Linked DNA regions of Homo sapiens: regions 1 and 2 are each linked to region 3. The links are contacts of gene promoters, found by promoter capture Hi-C in blood cells and fetal thymus (Javierre and others, 2016). All regions are on one chromosome and are shown on one strand. The core of a region is centred on a gene start or on the middle of the fragment in contact, and the rest is flanking DNA. Distances in the headings are between cores, read along the strand shown.

What was found. The method cuts DNA at HindIII sites, captures the fragments that hold promoters and counts their contacts. A CHiCAGO score of 5 or more calls a contact.
Region 1: a fragment that was not itself captured here is called in contact with the fragment with the promoter of HCAR1 in region 3 in 1 of 17 cell types (endothelial precursors); the score reaches 5.9 in endothelial precursors.
Region 2: a fragment that was not itself captured here is called in contact with the fragment with the promoter of HCAR1 in region 3 in 1 of 17 cell types (endothelial precursors); the score reaches 5.2 in endothelial precursors.

Annotation. Positions count from the first base shown.
Region 1 is chr12:122,534,010-122,538,527 of GRCh38, forward strand. KNTC1 (kinetochore associated 1) reads left to right here. Exons shown (of 64, transcript NM_014708.6): 3 at 655-775; 4 at 4,330-4,445. Among named protein-coding and RNA genes, the nearest start is that of KNTC1, 9.0 kb to the left of the region's middle. The HindIII fragment of the contact is 3,394 bases long and covers 907-4,300 here.
Region 2 is chr12:122,573,533-122,577,697 of GRCh38, forward strand. It overlaps KNTC1 (kinetochore associated 1), which reads left to right. Exons shown (of 64, transcript NM_014708.6): 27 at 750-848; 28 at 2,011-2,114; 29 at 2,268-2,367; 30 at 3,363-3,497; 31 at 4,140-4,165. Among named protein-coding and RNA genes, the nearest start is that of KNTC1, 48 kb to the left of the region's middle. The HindIII fragment of the contact is 1,520 bases long and covers 904-2,423 here.
Region 3 is chr12:122,729,484-122,733,703 of GRCh38, forward strand. It overlaps HCAR1 (hydroxycarboxylic acid receptor 1), which reads right to left and starts at 1,361. Exons shown (of 1, transcript NM_032554.4): 1 at 1-1,361. The coding sequence starts at 856. RefSeq lists an enhancer at 123-790. The HindIII fragment of the contact is 4,369 bases long and covers 1,320-4,220 here.

The DNA.
Region 1 (4,518 bases), core at 1,354-3,853, 190 kb before region 3:
CAACCACTAATCTGTCCCAGTGCTTCAAGACAGCTATGTGTGGGAGGCTCTTGGCAACAGAAACTGAATACTGGAGACTCTGATTTGGCTTGTCTACTGTTTTTAAAAATGTTGGCTTAGCTGCCAATATTTAAAAATCAGAACATTTCACATAAAGATCCAGCTTCTGTTGATGAATTGGGAGGTATGGCCATGCCAGTGCTGCATCCCCACCAGGCTTCCCACTGGCTGGTGTGAAGTAGACTCTATTCTTTCATGTCTGTGGGGGCATGGACCCTCCAGTTCACAGTTCACCACCGTTCCCCTGCCTAGCGTATCCACGACACCAAGACTTTATTCCAATCTTGATTAATTCATTATGTTAATACCTGGCTCCTGCAGCATAAAGTCAATCCTGAGGAAACAAGGACTTGAACATGAGAATCCTTTGCCCTTCCTGCTCATCCTGAACTGTTTTTCTACTTAGGATCCTGGATGGATTCAAGATATACCATACAAAGAAAAACTCGATGATTAATTAGATAGAGGGGCTAAAGAAAAAAAGCCTGTCAAGTTTTAAAGTGGGATATTTGGGAATTTGATGATACTATTGATAAGTATTATTAAACACATATAAAAATGTTTGAATTTTCATCATGCTTTTCTCTCCCACAGGCCTCATTAAATCCAAAGATACAGGCATGCAGCTTAAGTGATGGGTTTATTATTGTAGCCGACCAATCAGTGATATTGCTTGACAGTATTTGTAGATCACTTCAATTGCATCTTGTCTTTGGTAAGTATAATGTAGTGAATGAAGTAAGATAAATTGGAAGTCAAATACATCTGCTGCCAATTTCTGCTGGATTGCCTCCTCTTTACTCCATTATTTCTAAGATTTCAAATTAGACCAATTTCAAGTAATTAAGCTTGAGTGCTTAGTGCCTTATTTGCGTTGGGCACTAGAGTCAAAGGACACTGAGATGATCCCTTCTCTCAATACATCTGAGGGGAAATACACATGTAAAGCAACAACTTAGTTTACTTGCTTGTATTAGAATACTATGGAAAACATGAGCTCATTTGTGTTCAAATTCCTGAATCTTGTACAGAATTTCGGTATCATTAATGGGTATTTGCATATTTTTAGAATTAATAGCTCTCTAAAAATCCTTTAACATACTTATGAATTAATTCTTCATCGAGCTACAAGGCTTCAAGTACATGCAAATGTGGATTTGAGAGTGAATTAAAGCTGGGCGTGGTGGCTCATGCCTGCAATCCCAGCACTTTGGGAGGCTGAGGCCACCAGATCACTTGCGGTCAGGAGTTCAAGACCAGCCTGGCCAACATGGTGAAACCCCATTTCTACTAAAAATACAAAAATCACACCTGTAATCCTTGTACTTTGGAAGGCCCAGGTGGGTGGATTGCCTGAGCTCAGGGGTTTGAGACCAGCCTGGGCAACATGGTGAAATCCCGTTTTCTCTACTAATATACAAAAATTAGCTGGCCGTGCTGGTGTGCGCCTATAGTTCCAGCTACTCGGGAGGCTGAGGTAGGAGAATTGCTTGAACCTGGGAGGTGGAGGTTGCAGTGAGCCAAGATCACTCCACTACACTCCAGCCTGGGTGACAGAGCAAAACTCTGTCTCCAAAAACAACAACAACAACAAAAATTAGCTGGGCATGGTGGCATACACCTGTAATCCCAGCTACTCAGGAGTCTGAGGCAGGAGAATCGCTTGATCCCAGGAGGCAGAGGTTGCAGTGAGCCAAGATTATGCCACTATACTCTAGCCTGAGTGACAGAGTGACAGTCGTGTCTCAAAAACAAAAAAAAGAGTGAATTAAGGGGTAAGTCAGTGATTGTACTGAGCTTAGGCAAGAATATTATGAAAGTTTTTTTTTTTTTTTTTTGAGATGGAGTCTCTCTCGCTCTGTCACCCAGGCTGTAGTGCAGTGGCACAATCTCGGCTCACTGCAAGCTCTGCCTCCCGGGTTCACACCATTCTCCTGCCTCAGCCTCCTGAATAGCTGGGACTACAGGCGCCCACCACCATGCCTGGGCAATTTTTTGTATTTTTTTTTTTTTTTAGTAGAGACAGCATTTCACCATGTTAGCCAGGATGGTCTCGATCTCCTGACCTTGTGATCTGCCTGCCTCGGCCTCCCAAAGTGCTGGGATTATAGGCATGAGCCACGACACCCGACCCCGAAAGTTTTTTCTTTCTTGAGTAGAAATTTTTTTTTTTTTTGAGATGTAGTCTCGCACTGTCGCCTAGGCCGGAGTGTGGTGGCATGATGTCAGCTCACTGCAACCTCCGCCTCCAGGGTCCAAGCAATTCTCCTGCCTCAGCCTCCCAAGTATCTGGGACTACAGGCACCCATCACCACGCCCTGCTAATCTTTTTTTGTATTTTTAGAAGAAACAGGGTTTCACTATGTTGGCCAGGCTGGTCTCAACCTCATGATCTGCCCGCCTCGGCCTCCTGAAGTGTTGGGATTACAGACGTGAGCCACCGTGCCAGGCCTTTTTTTTTTTTTTCCCTGAGACAGTCTCGCTCTGTGGCCCAGGCTGGAGTGCAGTGGTGCTCTCTCAGCTCACTGCAACCTCCACCTCCCAGGTTCAAGAGATTCTTCTGCCTCAGCCTCCCAAGTAGCTGGGAGTACAGGCGCCTGCCACCATGCCTGGTAATTTTTGTATTTTTAGTAGGGTCAGGTTTCACCATGTTGGCCAGGCTGCTCTCAAATTCCTGACCTCAAATGATCCACCCACCTTGGCCTCCCAAAGTGCTGGGATTACAGGCGTGAGCCACTGCACCCGGCCATTAAATAGAAATTTTAAGAGAAAGATAGTTGTTGAAACTTTTACATAAGAACTTAGACAACTGAAAAGGAAACAGAACACATGCATTTTGGAACATATCTTGATTGCAACATGGAGGCAAGAAACTTGTGTTTTATGGAACCTTGACGTATTGACCCTGATTGGTCCACAAGATTCACAGTTTCTTCTATTAAGTGGTGGGATGAGTAACGATGATCCATTTGTGAAAAGACATTGTGGCGGAATAACTTGAGTTCGTAAGCCAGTTACATACTATTGTTTTTCTGTCTTGTCCCTTCCCTCTTTGCTTTGTTTTCTGTTACCTTGGCCTTCTTGCTTTTGCATGAATACAACAGGCACTTCCCACTCCATGATCTTTCCTTGAGCTGTGTCCACCATCTGAATGCTCGGAATGCTCTTCATCTTAGTCATTTGGCTAACTTCCTCACCTCTTTCATGTCTCCTGTGAGCTTTCTAATTAACACTGCAAAATGCACCATTCTTCTGAGCTCTCTTACCTGGCTCTACATTTTTTTCCCCAGAACATCTATCACCTTCTTACATGTCTCACAGTTTGTTTATTATGCTAATTGTTTATCAGCTATTTTTTTTTTTTTTTGAGACGGAGTCTGGCTCTGTTGCCTAGGCTGGAGTGCAGTGGCGTGATTTCAGCTCACTGCAGCCTCCACCTCCTGGGTTCAAGCGATTCTCCTGTCTCAGCCTCCTGAGTAGACTGGATTACAGGCACATGCCACCATGTCCGGCTAATTTTATATTTTTAGTAGAGACGGAGTTTCACCATGTTGGCCAGGCTGGTCTCGAACTCCTGACCTCAAGTGATCTGCCTGCTTCGGCCTCCCAAAGTGCTGGGGTTACAGGTGTGAGCCACCACGCCTGGTCATTTATCAGCTATTTCTGTCTTAGAATATGAGCTCTGTGACGGTGGTAATCTTTTGTTACTGTTCTCAGATATATGTAAAAGGCCTAGAACAAAGTTTACCATATAGTAAGTGCTCAGTAAATATTTCTTGACCAGCTGCATGCAGTGGCTCACATCTGTAACCTCAGCACTTTGGGAGGCAGAGATGGACAATCGCTTGAGCTCAGGAGTTCGAGACCAGTCTGGGTAACATGGCAAAACCTCGTCTGTACAAAAAATACCAAAAACTAGCTGGCCATAGTGGTGTGTACCTGTGGTCCCAGCTACCTGGGAGGCTGAGGTGGGAGAATTGCCTGACTGAGCCCAGGAAGTCTAGGGTGCAGTGAACTGGGGTGGTACCACTGCACTCCAGCCTGGGTAGCAGAGCGAGACGCTGTCTCAAAAACAAAACAAAACAAAAAATATTTGTTGACTGAATAAAAGTCAACAACATTCTTTTTTACTTTCATCACATCTGTTTTGCAGTATTTAGAAGTAACTTAAGTAATCGTTGGCTTTTTAATGAGAAAAATTTGTATTTTTTTTGTATTGAAAATAAAGATTTTCGAAGGAAGCTTGTAACTTTGATTTGAAATTTTCAGATACTGAAGTGGATGTAGTTGGCCTTTGTCAAGAAGGAAAGTTTCTTTTGGTTGGCGAGAGAAGTGGCAACCTACATCTTATTCATGTAACATCAAAACAAACACTACTCACTAATGTAAGATCTTGTTGTATTTTAATTTTCATTATTTAAATTCTAAATAATCTCTTAGACAACTAAAACTCTAGCA
Region 2 (4,165 bases), core at 414-2,913, 160 kb before region 3:
TTGAGGATACACCCATGACACAGCCTCAGGAAGTCCTGACGACATGTACCCAAGGTGGTCCGGGCACAGCTTGGTTTTATATATTTTAGGGAGAGACACGAGGCATCAGTCAGCATATGTAAGAAGTACATTGGTTCGATCTGGAAAGGTGGGACAACTTGAAGCAAAGGCAGGAAGACTCCAAGCGAGAGGGAGCTTCCAGGTCACAGATAGGTGATACAAAACATTAAAATTCTTTTGAGTTTCTGATTAGCCTTTCCAAAGGAGGCAATCAGATAATGCAGCTGTCTCAGTGAGCAGAGGGGTAACTTTGATAGAATGGGAGGCAAGTTTGCCCTAAGCAATTTCCAGCCTGAGTTTTCCTTAGTGATCTTGGGGGCCCAAGATATTTCCCTTTCACAGTACTTTCTTCAAAGGGCTATTGTGAGACCACAGGAGCATGAACTCAATAAATATTAGCAGTTATTTCTTGTGGATGTTATTAATGTGCTACAGTAATCTTATTTGTAGATTCTTCAAGAATGTTTCATTCTTAAATTTTCTATACCATATAAAACTAAAGGCTAATGTTTTGGCAGTTTTGTATTTTTAGACCATTGTTCAACATTTATGACTAATTAGAATTTTTAGGTTTTTTTTCTTTTAACACATCTATCAAGGCCATATAATATCTGTATCTAGCTGTATGTGGCATTTTTTTAATGAGAATTTTTAATTTTTAAAAAACATACATGTTTATCCCTTTTTAGGATTTACTGAATAGATGCAGCTCAAAGTCCACATCACTCTTTGAAACAGCATGGGAAGCAAAGGCCATGGCAGTAATAGCGTGTTTATCTGACACGGACGTAAGTAAATAGTGACCATTTGCGTTTCCCTTTTGAGCATTAAATCTTTTCTGAAAGCTTTTTTCTGTTCATAAAAGCGACATATATTTGTTTTTGTTTGAGATGGGTCTGGCTGTGTCGCCCAGGCTGGAATGCAGTGACATGATCATGGTTCACTGCAGCCTCAATCTCCCTGGCTCAAGCAATCCCCACCTCAGCCTCCTGAGTAGTTAGGACCATAGGCGTGTGCCACTACGCCCAGCTAATTTTTGTATTTTTTGTAGAGACAGGGTTTCCCAGGCTGGTCTTGAACACCTGGGCTCAAGTGATCTGCCTGCTTCATTCTCCTAAAGTGTCTGTTTTCTTTAATTACAGAAAATAAAAAGTGAATGTTTACTCATTTCCACCCCCAGGGGAACCTCCATGGACAGTTGTATGCATATCTTTGCAGGCTTTTCTGTGGTTATGCAAACATGGAGACTTTTCTTTTTCAGTTATTCGCTGCAATGTGAGACATTTGTTAATATATTGTAATATGCCTTTATTTTAACTTCACACTGTTATTGCCACTATAAAATAGAAATAAAATAATGAAAACTGTTTTTAAACCAGAGACTGAGGCTGGACACAGTGGCTCATGCCTGTAATCCCAGCACTTTTGGAAGCCAAGGCAGACAGATCACCTGAGCTCAGGAATTTGAGACCTGCCTGGGCAACATGGTGGAACCGCATCTCTACAGAAAATACAAAAATTAGCCAGGTGTGGTGGTGCTTGCCTGTAGTCCAAGCTACTTGGGAGCCTGAGGTGGGAGAATCGCTTGAACCCAGGAGGTGGAGGTTGCAGTGAGCTGAGATCGCGCCACTGCACTCCAGCCTGGGCAATGGGAACATGACCCTGCCTCAAAAAAACAAAAAAAACCCAGGGATTGTAGAGACCGTAGAAAGCAATAACGCTGTATGTCTTAGCTTACAGCAGAAAAAATACTCTTCTGAATTTTTCTGAATAGTCAAATTGTTCTCTATATGTGAAAACTGAAGAAATAAATGGTTTTCCAGTGAGTGGATGAAATATTCTCAAACTACCATGTGGTTGATGTAAGACCTGCTGATTAGACTGTGCTGTTCACTTGCATGCATCGTAAACCTGAGGGCTGTTCCTTGTCCATGCGTGCATCTTTTGTAGCTCATATTTGATGCCGTGCTCAAGATCATGTATGCGGCAGTGGTTCCTTGGAGTGCAGCTGTGGAGCAACTGGTGAAACAGCACCTGGAAATGGACCATCCCAAGTAAGATGACTGTCTACGAAACAATGTTGTTATGCTCTGGAGAAACATTGTGTTTTGAGTTGACGTTCATTTATGTTTCTATATTGTTTGCTGTGTCCCATAGTACTTCATAAAAAAGACAATCCATGTTAATATGGGTAAATTTGCTTTCAGAGTCAAGTTATTACAGGAAAGTTACAAACTAATGGAGATGAAAAAACTTTTACGAGGCTATGGAATAAGAGAGGTAAATCTCTTAAACAAGGAAATAATGGTAAGTACACTCTTCGAAGAGTCTTTTTTCTCTTTCATTTCTGGGGCAATATGGAAAGCTTAATGAGGAATTTATATTCTAGGAGGCTAATAGAGCTAGGTTTTTCCACTACATTTCTTTTGTTAGATATGATGTTAATAAGGTGTTCAGTTATTTATGAGAGTATTTATTCTTTTTGACATGGAGTTTCGCTCTTGCCGCCCAGGCTGGAGTGCAATGGCGCGATCTCGGCTCACCACAACCTCCGCCTTCTGGGTTCAAGTGATTTTCCTGCCTCAGCCTCCTGAGTAGCTGGGATTACAGGCATGCACTACCACGCTTGGCTAATTTTTTTTTTGTATTTTTAGTAGAGATGGGGTTTCTCCATGTTGGTCAGGCTGGTTGGTCTTGAGCTCCCGACCTCAGGTGATCTGCCTGCCTCGGCCTCCCATAGTGTTGGGATTACAGGCGTGAGCTACCGCTCCTGGGCTTTTTATGAGAGTATTAAAGACACCAAATAGGCCAGGTGCGGTGGCTCACACCCGTAATCCCAGCACTTTGGGAGGCCAAGGTGGGTGGATCATGAGGTCAAGAGATCAAGACCATTCTGGCCAACATGGTAAAACTCCGTCTCTGCTAAAAATGCAAAAAAATTAGCAGGGTGTGGTGGCATGTGCCTGTAGTCCCAGCTACTTGGGAGGCTGAGGGAGGAGAATCACTTGAACCTGGGAGGCAGAGGTTGCAGTGAGCCGAGATTGCGCCACTGCACTGTAGCCTGGCGACAGAGGGAGACTCTGTCTCAAAAAAAAGACACCAAATAGTAAATTAAGAAGCTGTAGAAGAAAGAAGACAGGACTGTGGAATGATCAGAATATAAATCATGTTTTAATCTTTCATACAATTTAGTTTTTTGCTGCATTATTTAAATTTTTTTGCCACTTTGCTCTTATAAGCAAGTGATTTCTTGGTTTTCTGTGAGTTCTATAACAAAGAAATGTTCATATTGTCTTTTGCAGAGAGTGGTTAGATACATTCTCAAACAAGATGTCCCATCTTCTTTAGAAGATGCTTTAAAGGTAGCCCAAGCGTTTATGTTATCTGATGATGAGATCTACAGTCTAAGAATTATTGACCTGATTGATAGAGAACAGGTTTGTAAGTTTTATGTTGTCATTTCATATGGCTTCTTTGTTTCTGTGTTGTTGTTGTTGTTTTTTGAGACAGGGTCTCGCTCCATTGCCCAGGCTGGAGTGCAGTGGCTGTGTTTCACCATGTTGGTCACGCTGGTCTCAAACTCTCAACCTGAAGTAATCCACCTGCCTTAGCCTCCCAAAGTGCTGAGATTACTGGTGTGAGCTACCATGCTTGGCCTGTTGTGTTTTTAAATGTCATTATTTTTATATGATTCTATAATCATAGCAATGCCTAGGAATTAACTCTTCAGTATCTAGGATCGTATTTTAAATTTATTTTATTGTTTGCTGTCATCAAAAATGGATTTTCAGCATCAGGATGGATAGCTGATGCATGCAGGGCTTAAAATGTGCATGACAGGTTGATGGGTACAGCAAACCACCATGGCACATGTAACAAGCCTGCACTTCCTGCACATGTACCCTGAAACTTAAAGTAAAATAAAATAAAAATGGATTTTCGGATTATTAAAACATTGAACCATAATCTGTTTTTCCAAATGATGTATTTTCATCTTTAAATAGAAAAGAAAGAGGTAAGGCCACACCGTCCTTTGCAAATACCAGCTGTTTTTTCTTCCTTTCAAACCCTGTTTATAGGGTGAAGACTGTCTCCTTCTGTTGAA
Region 3 (4,220 bases), core at 111-2,610:
GAAAGGAGGGGCTTGAAAAATAATACACCAGGGGATCCAGCATGCTGTTCATGTAGGTGAAGCTGAGGGTTATGTGCAGGGCCCCATGGACAGAGGGATCGCAGGCACTCGAGGGCACCGTCCAGAGGAAATAGAGTCTAGCAGACACGCTGGGCAGGTAGCATGTGATGAACACAATTGCCACCACCATGATGAACCGGGTCGCCTTCTTCATCCGAGCCTGTCTGGCCAGCTGCTGCCTCCGCCTCAGGCTCCAAACAATCTTGAAGGAGCAAAATAAGATGATGCCGAGGGGCATAAAGAACTCCAGCTGGAACATGATGTCATGCCAGCCATTGGCCGACTCCATGATGAAGCTCTCACAGGAGACGGCCGTCTCTTGCACGCAGAGATGGTTCTCCAGCAAAAGATACACTGTTCCCAGGATGACCAGGGCCCACAGGGTGCAGACGATGCCAGCCGCCACCCGGGTGGAGATAGTGTTCACCGCGTGGTGGGGGTGGACCACTTTGAAATACCTGTCCGCAGCCACCACCGTAAGGAACACGATGCTCCCGGCCCTGTTCATGGCCAACGTGAAGAGCCCCACTCGGCAGGGAATGTCCCCAAAAGCCCAGTGTCTACGTCTGAGGTAATAGTCTGTCCGAAAAGGCAGGCAGATCATAAGGAGGAAATCAGCCACGGCCAAATTGAAAAGGTAAACAGTGCTGGGCTTCCAGGTCTTCATGTGGAAGCAGAAACCACACAGGGCGACCCCATTGCCTAGTGCGCCCAGCACAAAGGCCACAATGAGCAGCGGCGGCATCACCTGGGAGATGGTGTCCCCCTCGATGCGGCAGCACGACCCGTTGTACATGGCGGGGACAGAGCAAGTGTCCGGGTGCAGAGCAGCCCAGGGAGTCCCCACAATGGCACAGATGCTTATCTGAGCGTTAGCACTCACCCAGCTGCTGCGTGTCTGACTTCATCACCCAGGATGCGGGTCCTGTGTGTGTGGGTTGGATGCTGCCACAGCAGCGAGAAGAGAAACTTCAGCCAGGAAATGAGAGACCCAGGGAGGTCCTTTCTCTGGAGCCCGTCTCACAAGCCGCCTGCCTCTGGGAGAGGCCAAGCCTGGAGCCGGATGAAGCTTGGAAATGCATGCAATTTTGCAAAAGTGGTCATTTCTGAGAGGCGGTAGGGTGGGGGGGTCCGATGAGATTGATGCCGTAGAGGAGCGATTGGGTCCAGCGCCAGAGTAATTTTCATTTTCAGCTTCGCTGTTCCTCCTCGGACTCCGTGCTGGAGAGCACACAAAGCTGCCCAGAAGGCAAGAAGAAAGCTTGTTTGTCCTCCCTCCTGGTGGAGAAATCCAAACATTTCCTGGAGTGGTTCTGGGCTCCTGCCTTTGCTTTCCTCCCGTAACCTTTGCCTGACTGCCTTGTCCTCTCCCTCATCCCACGGGGCACTCCCATGCGGTGCCAGAGAGGGGAGGCTTTGCTCTGCAGCTCCTCCGGGCCATTTCCTGTGCCGAAAAATACCGCGCTCAAAAATTGGAGGAGTCTGCGGAGAGAAAAGTTCTAATCACGATACTTGATGGATGTTAGAAAAATTCTTTGACGGGAGTCACCTTTCCCCCGCTCTATTCCCACCTCCCTGCCCTTTACATCCTTCCGTGAACCAAAGTGGCCAGTTGCACAACCACCAAGACCATGAAATAGATCTGAAGCCCACTTCTCATATGTCTGTCTCCACAAAACGGCCTCTTTGGGAGCCGGTTTCCCCCTCTGCTGGGAAGCAGAGCCTAGAACTTTTACAAAGATTTGGCCCTGAGTTTCCATTGGCTGTTGAATGAGCCAAACACCATGAGATGTACGTTTTTAATTTCAATTATGTGCTGAGCCCATCAATTAAAACTGCCCCCTGGGGGCGGAAGAGGATTGGAGGAGTTGATTAAGGAGTCCATCTCTAAAGCAATCATGAGTAACATTAGACTGCACAAAAAATTGGAGTCTTTGCTAAAATTTCCTGTCCTTTGGCTTTAAGGATTATTAATCTGCCCTGTGCCTTTCAGCTTCCAGTTTAGAAAATGGGGTGGAGGCCGGGCGCGGTGGCTCACGCTTGTAATCCAAGCACTTTGGTAGGCCCAGGCGGGCGGATCACCAGGTCAGGAGATGGAGACCATCCTGGCTAACACGGTAAAACCCCGTCTCTACTAAAAATACAAAAAAATGAGCCAGGCGTGGTGGCGGGCGCCTGTAGTCCCAGCTACTCGGGAGGCTGAGGCAGGAGAATGGCGTGAACCCGGGAGGCAGAGCTTGCAGGGAGCCAAGATTGCGCCACTGCACTCCAGTCTGGGTGACAGAACCAGACTCCGTCTAAAACAAACAAACAAACAAACAAACAAAACAACAAGAAAAAGAAAAAGAAAAAAGAAAGAAAGAAGAAAATGGGGTGGAGGCCAGTCGCGGTGGCTCACATCTATAATCCCAGCACTTTGGGAGGCCGAGGCAGGTGGATGACTTGAGGTCAGGAGTACAAGACCAGCCTTGCCAACATGGTGAAACCCCATCTCTACTAAAAATATACAAAAATCAGTCAGGTGTTGTGGCATGTGTCTGTAATCCCAGTTACTCAGGAGGCTGAGGCAGGAGAATCACTTGAACCCGGGAGGTGGAGGTTGCAGTGAGCCGAGATCGTGCCAATGAACTCCAGCCTGGGTGACAGAAAGAAACTCTGTCTCAAAAAAAAAAAATGGGGCGGAAAAGAGGGGGTGCATTGAAAGAATGTGTCTGTCTTCTAGATGCACACTGAAGCTAAATTCTTCCCACTGGATGCTGGACTCCAAATCTGTCCACCCACATTCTCCCCTGCCTCGCCCTAGCACAGACCGCAGTCACTTCCCACCTGAACTGTTGAAACAGTTTCCTAACTGGTTTCCCTTCCTCTCATCTATTTCCTGTAAGTCATCTTCTACACAATAATCTGATTTTTCTGAAGCACAGATATTATCATATACCTTTTTTCACTTAAAAATCTTCACTAGCTCCCTTCAATCTGCCAAGGGGCTAGAATGATGGCCTGTGGACCATATCTGGTTTAAAAACCAGCCTGGCTTGGCCGATATGTTTTTAAAACCTGGTGCAGTCCTATAAAAACCTGGATTTCTGTTGTCTCTTAGAACACTGGAAGATCTGGCCACACTGGACCGACACTCCCACATGGAAACAATCAGCTGGAGCTTAGAGTAGATGGAGTAGAGACAGAGAATGAGCCCCTGTAGACAGAGAATGAGCTTTACTGTTTGCCACAGTCCCCACCACTCCCTATTGCCTTACACCTGGTTGGCTTTCCTCATTGGCAAGCCTAGTCTCTGTGGGATTTTGAGTTTGTCACCTCTTGCTCTAGGTTGAAGGTCACATTCCTTGGATTGACGTACAAGGTCCTTCACAGTTGGTTCCCAACCTACCTTTCCAGTATGATTTTCCTGCCACTTTCCTCCTTCCACCCTACTCGCTAGTCTCATAACCTCTAATAAATAAAAACGTGTTCGTCAAACGTCTATATCTAGTTCCCCCACAAATTCAGGAGTTCTTTGAAGACAAACTTCATACTCTTGGCCTGGATGACTAACTCCTACTTTTCTCCTTCTTTCTTTCCTTCCGTCTTTCTTTCTTTCTTTCTTTCTTTTCTTTCTTTCTCTCTCTCTCTTTCTCTCTGTCTCTCTCTCTCTCCCTCTCTGCCTCCCTCCCTCTCTCTCTTTCTTTTTTTTTTGAGACAGAGTCTGGCTCTGTTGTCCAGGCTGGAGTGCAGTGGCTCTGTCTTGGCTCACTGTAGCCTCAACCTCCCAGGCTCAAGCCATCCTCTTACCTTAGCTTCCTGAGTGGCTGGGACTACAGGTGCATGCTACCATGCCCAGCTAATTTTTGTATTTTTTGTAGAGACGGGGTTTTGCCATGTTGTCCAGGTCTCAAACTCCGGGGCTCAAGTGATCCACCCACCTTGACCTCTCAAATGTGCTGACATTACAGGTGTAAGCCACCATGCCAAGCCTAACTCCTACTTTTCATGAGAGCTCATTGTAACCACTTTCACTCTGTGGGCCTTTGTGATTCTGTGATAAGGTGTTAACTAACAGGGGTAACCATGGTAGGTTGAAACACCCCAAGATGAGGTCAGAGGGGTAACCCTGAGTACTTCACATGCTTAGCCTGGATTTTTTAACAAATGGAAAATATTCT